Regions from separate parts of the Homo sapiens genome. Here all the other regions are linked to region 4. The links are contacts of gene promoters, found by promoter capture Hi-C in blood cells and fetal thymus (Javierre and others, 2016). All regions are on one chromosome and are shown on one strand. The core of a region is centred on a gene start or on the middle of the fragment in contact, and the rest is flanking DNA. Distances in the headings are between cores, read along the strand shown.

Evidence for each region. Contacts are between HindIII fragments. The CHiCAGO score rates a contact against its expected background, and 5 or more counts as called.
Region 1: a fragment that was not itself captured here is called in contact with the fragment with the promoter of POM121L2 in region 4 in 3 of 17 cell types (naive CD4 T cells, M1 macrophages and naive CD8 T cells); the score reaches 8.3 in naive CD4 T cells.
Region 2: a contact is called between a fragment that was not itself captured here and the fragment with the promoter of POM121L2 in region 4, in 2 of 17 cell types (erythroblasts and M2 macrophages). The highest score is 5.3, in erythroblasts.
Region 3: a contact is called between a fragment that was not itself captured here and the fragment with the promoter of POM121L2 in region 4, in 7 of 17 cell types (total B cells, naive B cells, total CD4 T cells and 4 more). The highest score is 13.0, in total B cells.

What each region holds. Positions count from the first base shown.
Region 1 is chr6:27,704,046-27,707,023 of GRCh38, forward strand. All of the region lies in intron 2 of LINC01012 (long intergenic non-protein coding RNA 1012), which reads left to right. All of the region lies in intron 1 of LOC124901291 (a long non-coding RNA gene), which reads right to left. Among named protein-coding and RNA genes, the nearest start is that of LINC01012, 12 kb to the left of the region's middle. The HindIII fragment of the contact is 4,279 bases long and covers 1-2,978 here.
Region 2 is chr6:27,639,547-27,642,909 of GRCh38, forward strand. No RefSeq gene overlaps it. Among named protein-coding and RNA genes, the nearest start is that of TRV-AAC3-1, 9.8 kb to the right of the region's middle. RefSeq lists an enhancer at 3,062-3,363. The HindIII fragment of the contact is 1,285 bases long and covers 1,057-2,341 here.
Region 3 is chr6:27,666,480-27,669,467 of GRCh38, forward strand. TRI-AAT8-1 (tRNA-Ile (anticodon AAT) 8-1) reads left to right here and starts at 2,104; the gene lies at 2,104-2,177. LOC124901292 (a long non-coding RNA gene) reads right to left here and starts at 2,094. Exons shown (of 2, transcript XR_007059535.1): 1 at 1,869-2,094; 2 at 493-1,649. RefSeq lists a cis regulatory region at 1,962-2,480 and silencers at 2,040-2,322, 2,069-2,258. The HindIII fragment of the contact is 4,511 bases long and covers 1-2,988 here.
Region 4 is chr6:27,310,818-27,313,858 of GRCh38, forward strand. It overlaps POM121L2 (POM121 transmembrane nucleoporin like 2), which reads right to left and starts at 1,456. Exons shown (of 1, transcript NM_033482.4): 1 at 1-1,456. The coding sequence starts at 1,353. It overlaps LOC105375107, which reads left to right and starts at 1,352. Exons shown (of 3, transcript XM_011515048.2): 1 at 1,352-1,375; 2 at 1,506-1,797; 3 at 2,028-2,919. The coding sequence starts at 1,352. The coding sequence ends at 2,395. RefSeq lists a silencer at 1,513-1,807. The HindIII fragment of the contact is 14,547 bases long and covers 1-3,041 here.

The DNA of each region.
Region 1 (2,978 bases), core at 239-2,738, 390 kb after region 4:
GTATGAATTTTGGTGGAACACAGTTCAACCCATGATATCTGCTAGTAAGGGAGCTTGCAAATATGACTAATTTCTAACCAGTTTCTAACATCCCATTTGACAGCAGGGAATTCCATATTTAAGGAAACTATTCATATTAACATTTAACATGGTTTTATGGCCGCCCAAAATCAATTTGTCACACTTCTCTTTTTTGATGTTTAAAGGGCACAGACACCAAAAGCTGAGACTCTGAACTTGATCAGCGTATTTTCAAATTTCAGGAATTCTTCTCATCAGAGAGCCTAACTTGGAAATGACCATTTACCTTTTCCAAATTTTCTTAACCCATAAAGAGGTTAAGGCCAACATAAGGGAGCTAATACATCTGCTGATTGAAAGTCAGATTATCTCAACTGCAAAAAAAAGTTGGGGCTTGAGTTAGATATTAAAAAAATAAAAATGATTCACTGTGAAAAGTGGTACAAAACTATGTTAAACATAACATTGTTGGGACAAAACAAAAATTAATTTTATTGAAAGACTGACTTTTTAAAGTTTTTTAGCTTGTTATTTTATTTCTTTTTTGTTGTTGTTTCTTTGAGATAGTGTCTCAGTCTGTCCCGCAGGCTGGAGTGCAGTGGCACGATCTTGGCTTACTGCAACCTCCACCTCCTGGGTTCAAGTGATTCTTGTACCTCAGCCTCCTAAGGAGCTGGGATTACAGACATGCACCACCACACCCTGCTACATTTTATTTTTTTGTATGTATTTTTAGTAGAGATGGAGTTTTACCATGTTGCCCAGGCTGGTCTCGAACTCCTGGGCTCAAGCAACCCTCCCGCCTCGGCCTCCCAAAGTGCTGGGATTACAGGCTTGAGCCACTGCGCCCAGCCTAGCTCGTTATTTTAAAAAGTATTCCCCATTTCTTGTAAATCGCTTGTTCTCTGCACAGTGGAACATTCTCTTGGCTGATTTGTAGATGGGAAGGCTCTTTCTACCGAACTCAGACTCATTACTGTCAGGAGTAGCAAACGTTAACTTTCTAAATGCATTTTACCCAGAATATAAACCTATGTGCTATTCTTAAATAGATTTAAACTTTCTCAATTCTAACATTTTAATAATTTTAGAACTCATTTCCAACCTGTTTTATACACTGTTCAGCTGATACTTCACAATTAGTACTTTTGATCTAAGTGTTTTCAGGGTGAGATTCCAGATGATCCCAGTAGTTTTGTTGATAAGTCTTCCGTCTTCCCATTAAGTGAAAGTCATATGTTGAAGAATGCAAATCCTTCAGTGTTTAGGTTTTACTCCTGAATTAGTCAGTCTTTCAGACACCCCAGAATAAATCCAGTTACTGCCTCTCATCTTTAAAAACCCTTCTGGTTTCTTCAGTCAGAGAACACAAATCTCCAAGTATTATTGCCAGGCTGAAATTCAGGACACAGCAACTTATTTCGGATGTTAATGTTCCTTGCTCCCCAACTTTATGCAAATGACAAAGGACGAAAACATACAAGGACATGCTTTGGGAGTCCAGGGTGGGAGGATCGCTTGAGCCCAGGAGTTCAAGACCAGCCTGGTCAACATAGTGAAACCTCATCTCTACAAAAAAAATTGAACTTAGCTATGTATATTGGCACATGCCTGTAGTCCCAGCTACTCAGGTTACTGAGGTGGGAGATTGGCTTGAGCCTAGGAATTTGAGGCTGTAGTGAGCCATTATGGTGCGATTGCACTCCAGCCTGGGTGACAGAGGAAGATTCTGTCTCACAAAAAAAAAAAAAAAAAAAAAAAAAAAAAGTATATTATCTATTTGGGAAATCACATTAAAAACCTACACACACCAGGCCGGGCACGGTGGCTCATGCATGTAATCCCAGCACTTTGGGAGGCCAAGGGGGGCGGATCACGAGGTCAGGAGATCGAGACCGTCCCGGCTAACACGGTGAAACCCCGTCTCTACTAAAAATACAAAAAATTAGCCGCACGTGGTGGCGAGCGCCTGTAGTCCCAGCTACTCGGGAGACTGAGGCAGGAGAATGGCGTGAACCCGGGAGGCGGAGCTTGCAGTGAGCCGAGATCGCGCCTCTGCACTCCAGCCTGGGCGACAGAGCGAGACTTTGTCTCAAAAAAAAAAAAAAAAAATACACACACCAAAGAATATACTTTAGGACAAATTATAGACAAGTATATAATAGTATAAGCAGCATTTACAATGAATTCACAATCTTCTTTTAGAAAAAAGGAAAGGATACAGCAATTAAGAGAGTTCCATGCCCTCAGGTTTTATTATTTGACGTGATGGCAGACAGAGGGGATGAAAAGGAGCAGACATCCTTTTTGTGAAAACATTTAGGCCCTCAAGTCAAGAAACTAGGGCTTGAAAGCCCTTGTTTTTGGACTCTAAGGATCTCATGAAAGCTGTGGACTGACTCTTCAGAAAAATACACATACACTTGATATTTTGCACGAGTTTCTTGGTGTTCATGGGTACCCTTCAGGCAAGTGAAATATATTATCTGTCTCAAACTGCATTCTTCTTTGATTTCCTTCACCACAGTGGCTGGAGAACTAAAAATTCTTTCTTTTTCTGATTTCTCTGTAGTTGGGGTAACATGTGACCTGGATCTGATCATTGTGATTCAAGTCAGCGTCATTTAGGGTTTTCGGGAAACATTTTTTGAAAGGGAGCAACTTGGCTGGAACACTCCATCAATTCTTTGCCCTGTGCATTTTTGCCCTTCTTTCTGCCTCTCAGGAATGCAGAGAGAATTCCTGGAGGAACAGCAGCTATCATACATCCGTGATGAAAGCCATGGGACAAAGGCAATTGAGCAAGAAGACAGGAGCTGGGGACATTCTTGACAGTAGTGCCACCTCTGGATGATTTACCTTGGGACCTCTTATTAAATGAGATAGGACTTCTTCCTGTTTAATCCACTGGAGTGGAATTTTCTGTTACAGTGAATGCAGTCCTAATTGATGATATT
Region 2 (3,363 bases), core at 449-2,948, 330 kb after region 4:
AAATAATTAGTCCAATGTAATGATACTTAGTAGATGCTCAAAAATATTCTTAGAAGGTCAAAACAGTACAGCGGAGTAAAGTCAGAACTATGGGGAGAGATAAGAAGAATAGAAAGGAAAGGAGGAAAAAATAAGGTGATTTGGATGTGGATGATGAGAAGGGGAAAAAAATGTAAAATGTATCTCTTTTTGGTTATTCCAGATGAGAATATTGGAAATTTTAAGCATTAAAAACTCCAAGGTTCTCCTAGATTTGGCATATACTCCTGCCAAATGAAAGATTGATATATATGCTTGGCTAACAACTAGAATTTGAAATGAGTTTGTTTTAGTCCCCATGTTGGGTAACATCTACTGTGAGATATCACACCACCACCAAAAGGGGCTAAGTATTCTACTTTTAAAATTTTTATCTTCATGTGAAAATGAATCCAATAATTTTTTTTTTTGAGACAGAGTGTCTCTCTGTCACCCAGGCTGGAGTGCAGTGGTGCGATCTCGGCTCACTGCAAGCTCTGCCCCCCGGGTTTACACCATTCTCCTGCCTCAGCCTCCCGAGTAGCTGGGACTACAGGTGCCCACCACCACGCCCGGATAATTTTTTGTATTTTTAGTAGAGACGGGGTTTCACCGTGTCAGGATGGTCTCGATCTCCTGACCTTGTGATCTGCCCGTCTCGGCCTCCCAAAGTGCTGGGATTACAGGTGTGAGCCACCGTGCCCGGCCAGAGTCCAATAATTTTTTAGATTATTTATGGAATATAATTTCAATAGTAGAAAAATTTTCTTTCTCCCTCTTTTTTTTTTTTTCCATTTTGATCTTCTGGATTTCTTTATTGTTTGTTTACTTTTGTTCACCCCTATTTCCATTTCTATTTCTGGTATAAACTGAGAAGATCTGTATCCTTAAAATGCTCCCCTAAGTGATTTTATCCAGAGCATAAATATAGTCTTTTCCATCTCTTGTCATTTCTAAACTGTATTTCATGTAATAGTTTGTTAATTCTTTAAAATTTTGCATAGATAATATGCATGGTTTAAAATATTTTTTGTGTAAAGCTTACCATTTTTCTTATATCCTAGCCACCCAGTTCTCCTCAGAACAGGCTATTGGTTTCTGTTATTAGTTTCCTAGAAAAGCAGAATTATTTATGTTCTGTTCTTTGTCAGATGTCATTCTAGATTAGTTTCTGAGGACGAGCCCATCTCTTCCTGTGTAATGAAAAGCTGGACCACCTAACAGTAGTGTTTTGTTTGTTTTAAGAGATAGCATTTCACTATGTTGCCCAGGCTGGATTCAAGCTCCTAGGCTGAAGGGATCCTCCTGCCTCCGCTTCTCAAGTAGCTAGGACTATAAGTGCCCACCACCCCGCTTGGGTATAGTGTATTTTTTTTTAAGATGAGGCTGGCCACACCCCATAACCTCGTCAGAAATACCAATCATGTGATTTGAATCATGCATTATCAGTCAACCTGAAGACTGAGTTCAAGCAAGACCCTGTCTCAACATAAGAAAAAAACAACACCATCAAAAGCATCCAAATTGGAAAGGAAGAAGTAAAATTGAGCCTGTTTGAAGATAACATGACTTTTTATAGAGACACTCCTAAAGACTCCATTAAAAAGAAGTGTTAATACTAATGAAAAAATTCAATATATTTGCAGAATATAAAATCAACATTCAGAAATCACTTGCATTACTATACAGTAACAATAAACTACATGAAATAATAAACAATAAACTACATAAAAAGAAAAATTAAAGGACAATCCCATTTATAGTAGCACCCCTCCCCCTTAAAAAAGAATTAAACTTAATCATGAAGGTGAAATGTTGTTAATGTTTGTTAAAATTTTCAGTGATGTACAATTAATGCAATCCGTATCCAAATCTATCTGGCAGTTTTTATGAAACAGAAAAAAAGACCATAAAATTCATATAAAACTCATATGAAACTACAAAGAACCCAAAGTCACCAAGTCAATCTTGAGAAAGAACAACAAAGCTGAAGACATCACACTTCCTGATTTCAGCATATACTACAGAGCTACAGTTATTAAAACAGTCTGGTACTAGCATAAAGACAGGTATATAAACCAAAATAACAGAATAGAGAGTCCAGAGATTAATCCATAAATATATGGCCAACTGATCTTTAACAAAGTTGCCAAGAACACACAATGGGAAAAAAACGATCTCTTCAACAAATGATGTTGAGAAAACTAGATATTCACATGAAAAAGAATGAAATTAGACCCTTGTTTACACCATTCACAAAAATTAACTAAAATGGATTAATGACTTAAATCTAAGATCTGCAAATATAAAACTCTGGGAGGAAAGCTTTAGGACATTGGTCTTGGCAATGATTTAATTACTATGACATCAAAATCATAGCCCAAAATAGCAAAAATAGAAAAATGGGATTACATCAAACAAAAGAGTTTCTTTTTCTTTGTTTGTTTGTTTTTTTTTGAGATGGAGTTTCGTTCTTGTTGCCCTGGCAGAAGTGCAATGGTGCAATCTTGGCTCACCGCAACCTCCACCTCACGGGTTCAAGTGATTCTCCTGCCTCAGACATGTGCCACCATACCCAGCTAATTTTGTATTTTTAGTAGATACAGAGTTTCTCCATGTTGGTCAGGTTGGTCTCAAACTCCCGACCTCAGATGATCCACCCACCTCGGCCTCCCGAAGTGCTGGTATTATAGGCCTTCTGCACAGCAAAAAAAAAAAAAAAAAGCAACCTATTAAATGGGAAAACAAATTTGCAAACCATATATCTGATAAGGGGTTAATTTCCAAGATACATAACTCTTACAATTCAGTAGTTAATCAAAACAAATAAAAACAAAAACCTGGTTAAAAATAAAAATGGGCCCGGTGTGGTGTCTCACACCTGTAATCCTAGCACTTTGGGAGGCTGAGGCGGGCAGATCACCTGAGATCGGGAGTTTGAGACCAGCCTGACCAACATGGAGAAAACCCGTCTCTACTAAAAATACAAAATTAGTTGGGCGTGGTGGCGCATGCCTGTAATCCCAGCTGCTCTGGAGGCTGAGGCAGGAGAATCACTTCAACCCCGGAGGCAGAGGTTGCAGTGAGCCAAGATTGCGCCATTGCACTCCAGCCTGGGAAACAAGAGCAAAATTCCGTCTCAAAAAACAATAATAGTAATAAAAATGTACTAAGGACTTGCATAGACATTTCTCCAAAGACGATATACAAATAGCCAACAACCATATGAAAAGACGCTCAATGTCACTAATCATCGAGGGAATGCAAATCAAACCAAAAGTGAGATATCATCTTATACCTGTTAGGATAACTATTATCAAAAAAACAAAAGACAAGTGTTGGTGA
Region 3 (2,988 bases), core at 371-2,870, 360 kb after region 4:
CTGAGGCAGGAGAATCGCTTGAGCCCAGGAGGCGGAGGCTGCAGTGAGCCGAGATCGCTCCACTGCACTCCAGCCTGGGCGACAGAGACTCCGTCTCAAAAAAAAAAAAAAAAAAAAAAAAGAAAGAAAAAGAAAACAATACATATATCTTACAAGACACTTGTGACAGATGTTCCGCTGTGTTGCCTATAATGCAGGTGAAGATAGTAATGATATGCTTGATTATGCATAGATTATTTTAGGGAAGATAAGAAAGTAAGAAATTCGATAGTCTCTGAGGAGGATATGGGGATAGTTAGGATCTAGGATTAACGGAGATTTGATCCTCATTTTATATCATGTTTACGGTTAAGGAAGGACAGAAAACCTTGTATTGAACTCCTCTTTTTGTCTGGAATTACTGCTGGTAACGTTAACACATAGTATTTCATTTGAAGCAAAGTAAAGAATAATACGGTTTTTGGATCCGGGAAACACAATTGAAGGTGGGGGTGGGGTAGAAGAACAGATTTTAATCTTAGGTGTTACTAGCAAAAAATGTGATTTCTCTAGTCCCAGGTGCAGATTTTCTTCAATAGTATTTGGTTTTCGTTACAAAAGAAAGAGCAAGTACCCAGGCTGGTGCTGTTAGAGTCAGGACAGCATGAAGAGCTCTGCCTACCAACAAGCCTCAGGACAGAGTACAGGAATGTTAGAAGATTAGCTCCCATTTATCTGAAGGAGAAAAAAGGGTAATCCTTCCGGTGTTGATGTCATATATGACAAGTTCATTCCCTTGGTATGGCTTTACATGTGAACTTCGGAGGTATATAAACACCAGTCAGAATGTGCAAGAGGGATCCTCAAAAGCCAGAATGTAATTCCTTGCGACCGGTGAAGAGGATGTGTTACTGCAGGAACTGTATCAGAGAGTTTACTTTCAGGTGATTTTTGAGCAAGTAGAAGCCTCAGTTCTTGACACCTAGGATAAAACCTCTTGAGGACTAGAAGAATGAAAAACATCGAAGCTCCTGGTGGTACTTCGGTCTTTAACCGTTGAATACATTAAGAGTAACACTGGAATTCCAACACTTCCTCGCGCCAGCGTCAGTTTTAGAATCAACAAAATCGTTACTTGCTGATTCATTTAACTGCTAATATATTCGTTAAAAGTTTATTAGGCGTCAGTGATCTTGAAAGTTCCAAAAACACGAAGGAAACCCCAGGCACATGTAGAGAGATAGTTCCTGACGCTGCAGGAGGTTTCTTTCAACTTGTCTCCAGGTGATGAAACCAGTAGCCTGACCAAGGATGAAAGAGCGTATCTCACTTATTCTGGCCTCTCCAACTCGGGCTGAAATCCTTCGGTTCCCAAGTTAGAATTTGAGTGACACACAGCAAGTGCTGTTAAATGAGACTTAATACCTAGCGGGGTGCCACCACAACCTTGCCCTTCTGCAAACCTCTGTAGCCCTTTTCTACCACCCTCAAAAAACATACCAGATTTACTATGTAATTCCGGTACTGCTGGGCTACCTCAGTTTCCACCCCTGAATATCTTCGCCGATTACATCAGTGCTTATGTTTGTGACTTCAGAGACACTGAGAAGGCGCGGCTCTTTCCCTCAACCCCATTCGCCTTCCTTTCGGCGGCGTTGTCTTGAACCAACCTGAAAATAATAAGTCCTTAAGTTACAAGTCACTAAAGGGAAGTTTGCAACTTGCGATCCAGTACACTGACATGACTCTAAAAAGAGAAGGCTGCCGACTCTGGGCGTACTGCCTTTGAATTAGCCATACTCCGCAAGGAGCAGTGCCGTTCAAAAAAAAAAATTTGTTGTCTAACAACAACAAAAATAAAATAAAAAGAGGAGGTTCCCTTCACTCACCATTGAAAATCCTATTACAGCGCTTTTTCCACATCCTCTGTCAAAAATTTCTCCGTGAATTTTCTAGTCTGGCTCAGAGTTAAAATAGTTTGGACTTCCTTGCTAAAGTCTGTAAATATAGTCTCAAAGGTCTCTTGAAAGGAGTAAGAAAGAAAAAAGTTCTGTTTTATTTAGAAAAACAAAAATATCAACGAATTTATATATGGTTTCCTTTAAAACAGCAGCGCATTCGTGTGGCCGGTTAGCTCAGTCGGCTAGAGCGTGGTGCTAATAACGCCAAGGTCGCGGGTTCGATCCCCGTACGGGCCACTGGATGCCATAGTGGGGCCCTTCACTTACCTGAAGGGAGGCCTTTTAATTTAAGCCTGTCGAATCACAGGTGCTCCGAATCGAATCCCAGGTGCTCTGAATCCGAAATTAAGACGCCCTCTTATTCGTCAAGCGAGAAGGCTATTTACGTTCGTTTCCCTTTATTGTGAAAAATGAAAAGAACAGGCCGGGCACGGTGGCTCGAATCTGTAATCCCAGCACTTTGGGGGGCCGAGGCGGGGTGATCATTTGAGGTCGGGAATTGGAGACCAGCCTGACCAATATGGTGAAACCCCGTCTCTATTAAAAATACAAAATAAGCTGGGCTCATGCCTGTAATCCCAGCTACTAGGGAGGCTGAGGCAGGAGAATCACTTGAGCCCGGGAGGCGGAGGTTGCGGTGAGCTGAGGCCGTGCCATAGTACCCCAGCCTGGGCCTGGGCAACAAGAGCGAAACTCCGTCTCAAAACAAACAAAGAACAACAAAAAAGATGCAAGCATTAGGAAGAATGTACTGAAGAAAATTGGGTTGGAGTAGTGCGGCAGCTAGGTGGGTGTGTTTTAGGGAATGGGGAATTAAGAAGAGATATGACATTTGCCTGTTTAGTTTTTAGTGAAACGTTAGGAAGCAATATATACTTTTTTCTATTTTTTTCATTCTCAATATTGAAAGGGAGACAATATTATTTTGACGCTTTAAACGAGTTTCGATAGGGAAAGGAAAGCAGGCTCAGCGTGGCCAGTGACTTGGTGAGAGTGTGATACTAATAGCAGCAAGATACGAGGTTTTGTTCCTCGCAATGGCTGTGCT
Region 4 (3,041 bases), core at 206-2,705:
GAGCTCTGACTGTGAGCACCCAGGTGGGGTCGGTAGGCTGGGTGTCTTCAAAGGAGAATGGGCCACACTGGTTGCCTCTCCCGTGGACTGTGGAGAGGCCAGTGGACCTAGAGACTTCTGCATTTTTCTTAAGTTTTCCAACTGAGGATTTGCTCCCTGGGTTAGATCTGTTTCTGAAGAAGGCAGAGCAAGAGACAAGGAAGGCTGAATAGCAAGCCAAGTCTCAGGGAAAGGGTCTGTGTTGACCTCAGTTGTATCTTCTCCTGCGTTGTTGCTTACCTGTAGCTCAGCTTTCTTCCCCAAAGTCAAGTTCTCATCAGAGACTGCATAACCAAGCTGGGGAGGTGGGATCTCTGACACCAGGTTCTCAGGGCTAGACGGCAGCTGTGGAATCTTCTGGTTTTGCTGCCCAGAACTTTCAGATCCTCCTAGGGACTCAAAATCTGATACCAGTGGGACTGGAGAGGAAGGCCGATGACAACTTTTTTCCTTTTTTATTGGCCACTCTGGTGTCTCGAATGATACACTGGGAACACTTCTCTTCCAAGGGTCTGAGAAATTTCTGCAAGAGCTGTAAGAGCTGCCAATAGCATTCCTTTTGGAGCTGAGGGTGCCACCTCTGTATATGCTGGCCAAGGAGCTCATGGAGGAGCAATTGGGCCTCTTAGTCAAGCTGTGATCTGAGCCCCAGGAGTGGAGACTTCTCTTCAGCGGCCCAGGCCTGGGCACAAAAGAAGTGAGGGTTCCATTTTTCATCAGGGGCTTAAATGCCGATGGTCTGGTCTCTGGACTCCTTCTCTTACTGTCCAGACTCTCAGGGAATAGTGGTTCTTCCAACCTCCCTTTCCCTTTTCTGCACTCTCTGAGGGCCCTCAACACTGTCTCCTTTGAACATGGATCTGCGAGCTCCTCAGAGGGCGGGAGTCCTGCAAGGGCAATTACATCTTCAGGAGAAGTGGAAGGGGGCACTCTCTGGTCAGGAGGAGTGATCCTGATGGTCACTGGGCTCCAAATTGGCCTGGGATGTCGAAGAGACCAAATAGTCCGCTTTAAGTAACTTTCCCACCAGTCTGAAGGGAGAGGCCCCAGGGGGGAATTCTGGGACTTCTTCATGGGAAAGCGCCTCCAGGCCTCGTTGGCCAGCCACGTGGTTGGATTGGCAGGATCCAGGTTTGGCCGCCTCCTCACAGGTCTATACCGTGGGGCAGGGTGGGCGCGGTGGACGAACTGAACCCGATGAACTTGGTGAAGGGGCTGAGGTGGCCGGCGTTTCGTGGGCCTCTCGGGCAAGTCGGTGCGCACCTGGGCTGGGGACGAGGGCGAAAGTTCCAGTTTGCTCAGGAAACTGCCCATGAGGAGAGATGAGGCGCGGGCAGTGAGTTCAAGCACGGTTTTGGCTTCCGAGGTTTCGGACGTCTGCAGAATCGGACAGAGTCGAAGAGCGCAGTGTTCGGTTGACGGTTGGGATTCACGCGCTAGGAAAGCGCGAGTCTCAGGGTGCTTAGCACTCTCCAGGCCCGGCACCCGCGGGAACGGGGGACACGCGGGACTTCGGCAGTCCCAGTAACTTGCTTTGCTGTTCTGAGACCTCAGCGGGGCGGTCAGACCTCTGCTGTCTCCGCAGCGAGTTGCAGTACTTGGCGCGGGGAGAGGAACTCGAGAGGAAGCTCACTGCGCCTCGCCCCTGGCGTCGGCAGCGGCTGTCTGGGACCCTGTGGTCCGGATTCACCAAGTGGCGCAGAGCTGGAATCGAGTGGGTGCACAGTTTCCAGGCTCCGACTATTACTGGCCTCGAAGGTACAGGCTCAGGCGGCTCAGGGCCCCGGCGCAGATCTGTCGGCCCGCGGGATCCCCGGAGTCTGAGTGGGGAGCACTATCCGCACCCCGTAGAGTGAGTGCGGGCGGCTTTCGCAGGTGCTCAGGACTGGAGATCTGGACCGGTGGCTGTGCCGCCCGGATGGCATTTGTGGCACTAGCAGTCGGGAAAGCAGCTGATTGAGGATTTCCGCGTTTCTCTTTTTTTGCAGATCGTGACGCCGCCAGTAGGTGTCAGTCATTTGCCGCACAGCCACCTTTGAGATCCACCTGTGTCTCCCAGCGGCCGAATCCAGGTTTCCTTCCTATTCGCACTTGGAGAACTCATGCAGATTGCCGTCAGGAGTGGCCTCAGAGATCCGGAGTGGGCGAATGGGAAATCGCATCTTACGGCCCAGAACCTGAGCCCTCCACAAGCACTTGGCTCAGTCCCTTGCTCAGGCCACCTCCTGTTCTCTTCTGCTCTGTGAAAGACACTGTTAAGAGAATGAAAAGACACGCCACAGACTGGAGAAAATATTTGCATAATACGTATGTATCTGCTGAAGCACTGGTATACAAAATATACATAGAATGTTAAAACTCATAATAAGGTAAAAAATTAATGGGCAAAATATTTAAACAGAAACCCCGCCAAAGAAGATATGCAGATGGTAAACAGTATAAAAAGATGCCAAACATCATTGACATATGCTATATGTCAATATTTAGCTATATATAACTAAACATCAGTAAATACTTCTGATTGCAATTTAAACATCAGTAAGATACCATAATTGCAAATTAAACATCAGTAAGATATTACTACACACCATTCAATTGGCTAAAATTCAAAACACCACATGCTAAGGAGGAGGTGGAGTAACAGGTACTCTCATTCATTACTGATGAGAATGCAAAATGGTACAGCCACTTTGGAGGACAGTATGGCAATTTCTTACAAAGCTAAAACACAGTCCTACAATACAATTCAACCACCACAATCCACGTGTTTATCCAAATGAGCTTAAAGTGAATGTCCACATAAGGACCTGCATGTGAATGTTTATAGAAGTTTTATTCATAGTTGCCAAAAATTGGAAGCAACCAAGAAGTCCTTCAACAGGCAAATGAATAAACTGTGGCATAACCATACAATGGAATATTATTCAACACTAAAAAGAAATGCACTATCAAGTCACGAAAAGATATAGAGGAACCTAAAATCCATATTGCTAAGTGAATGG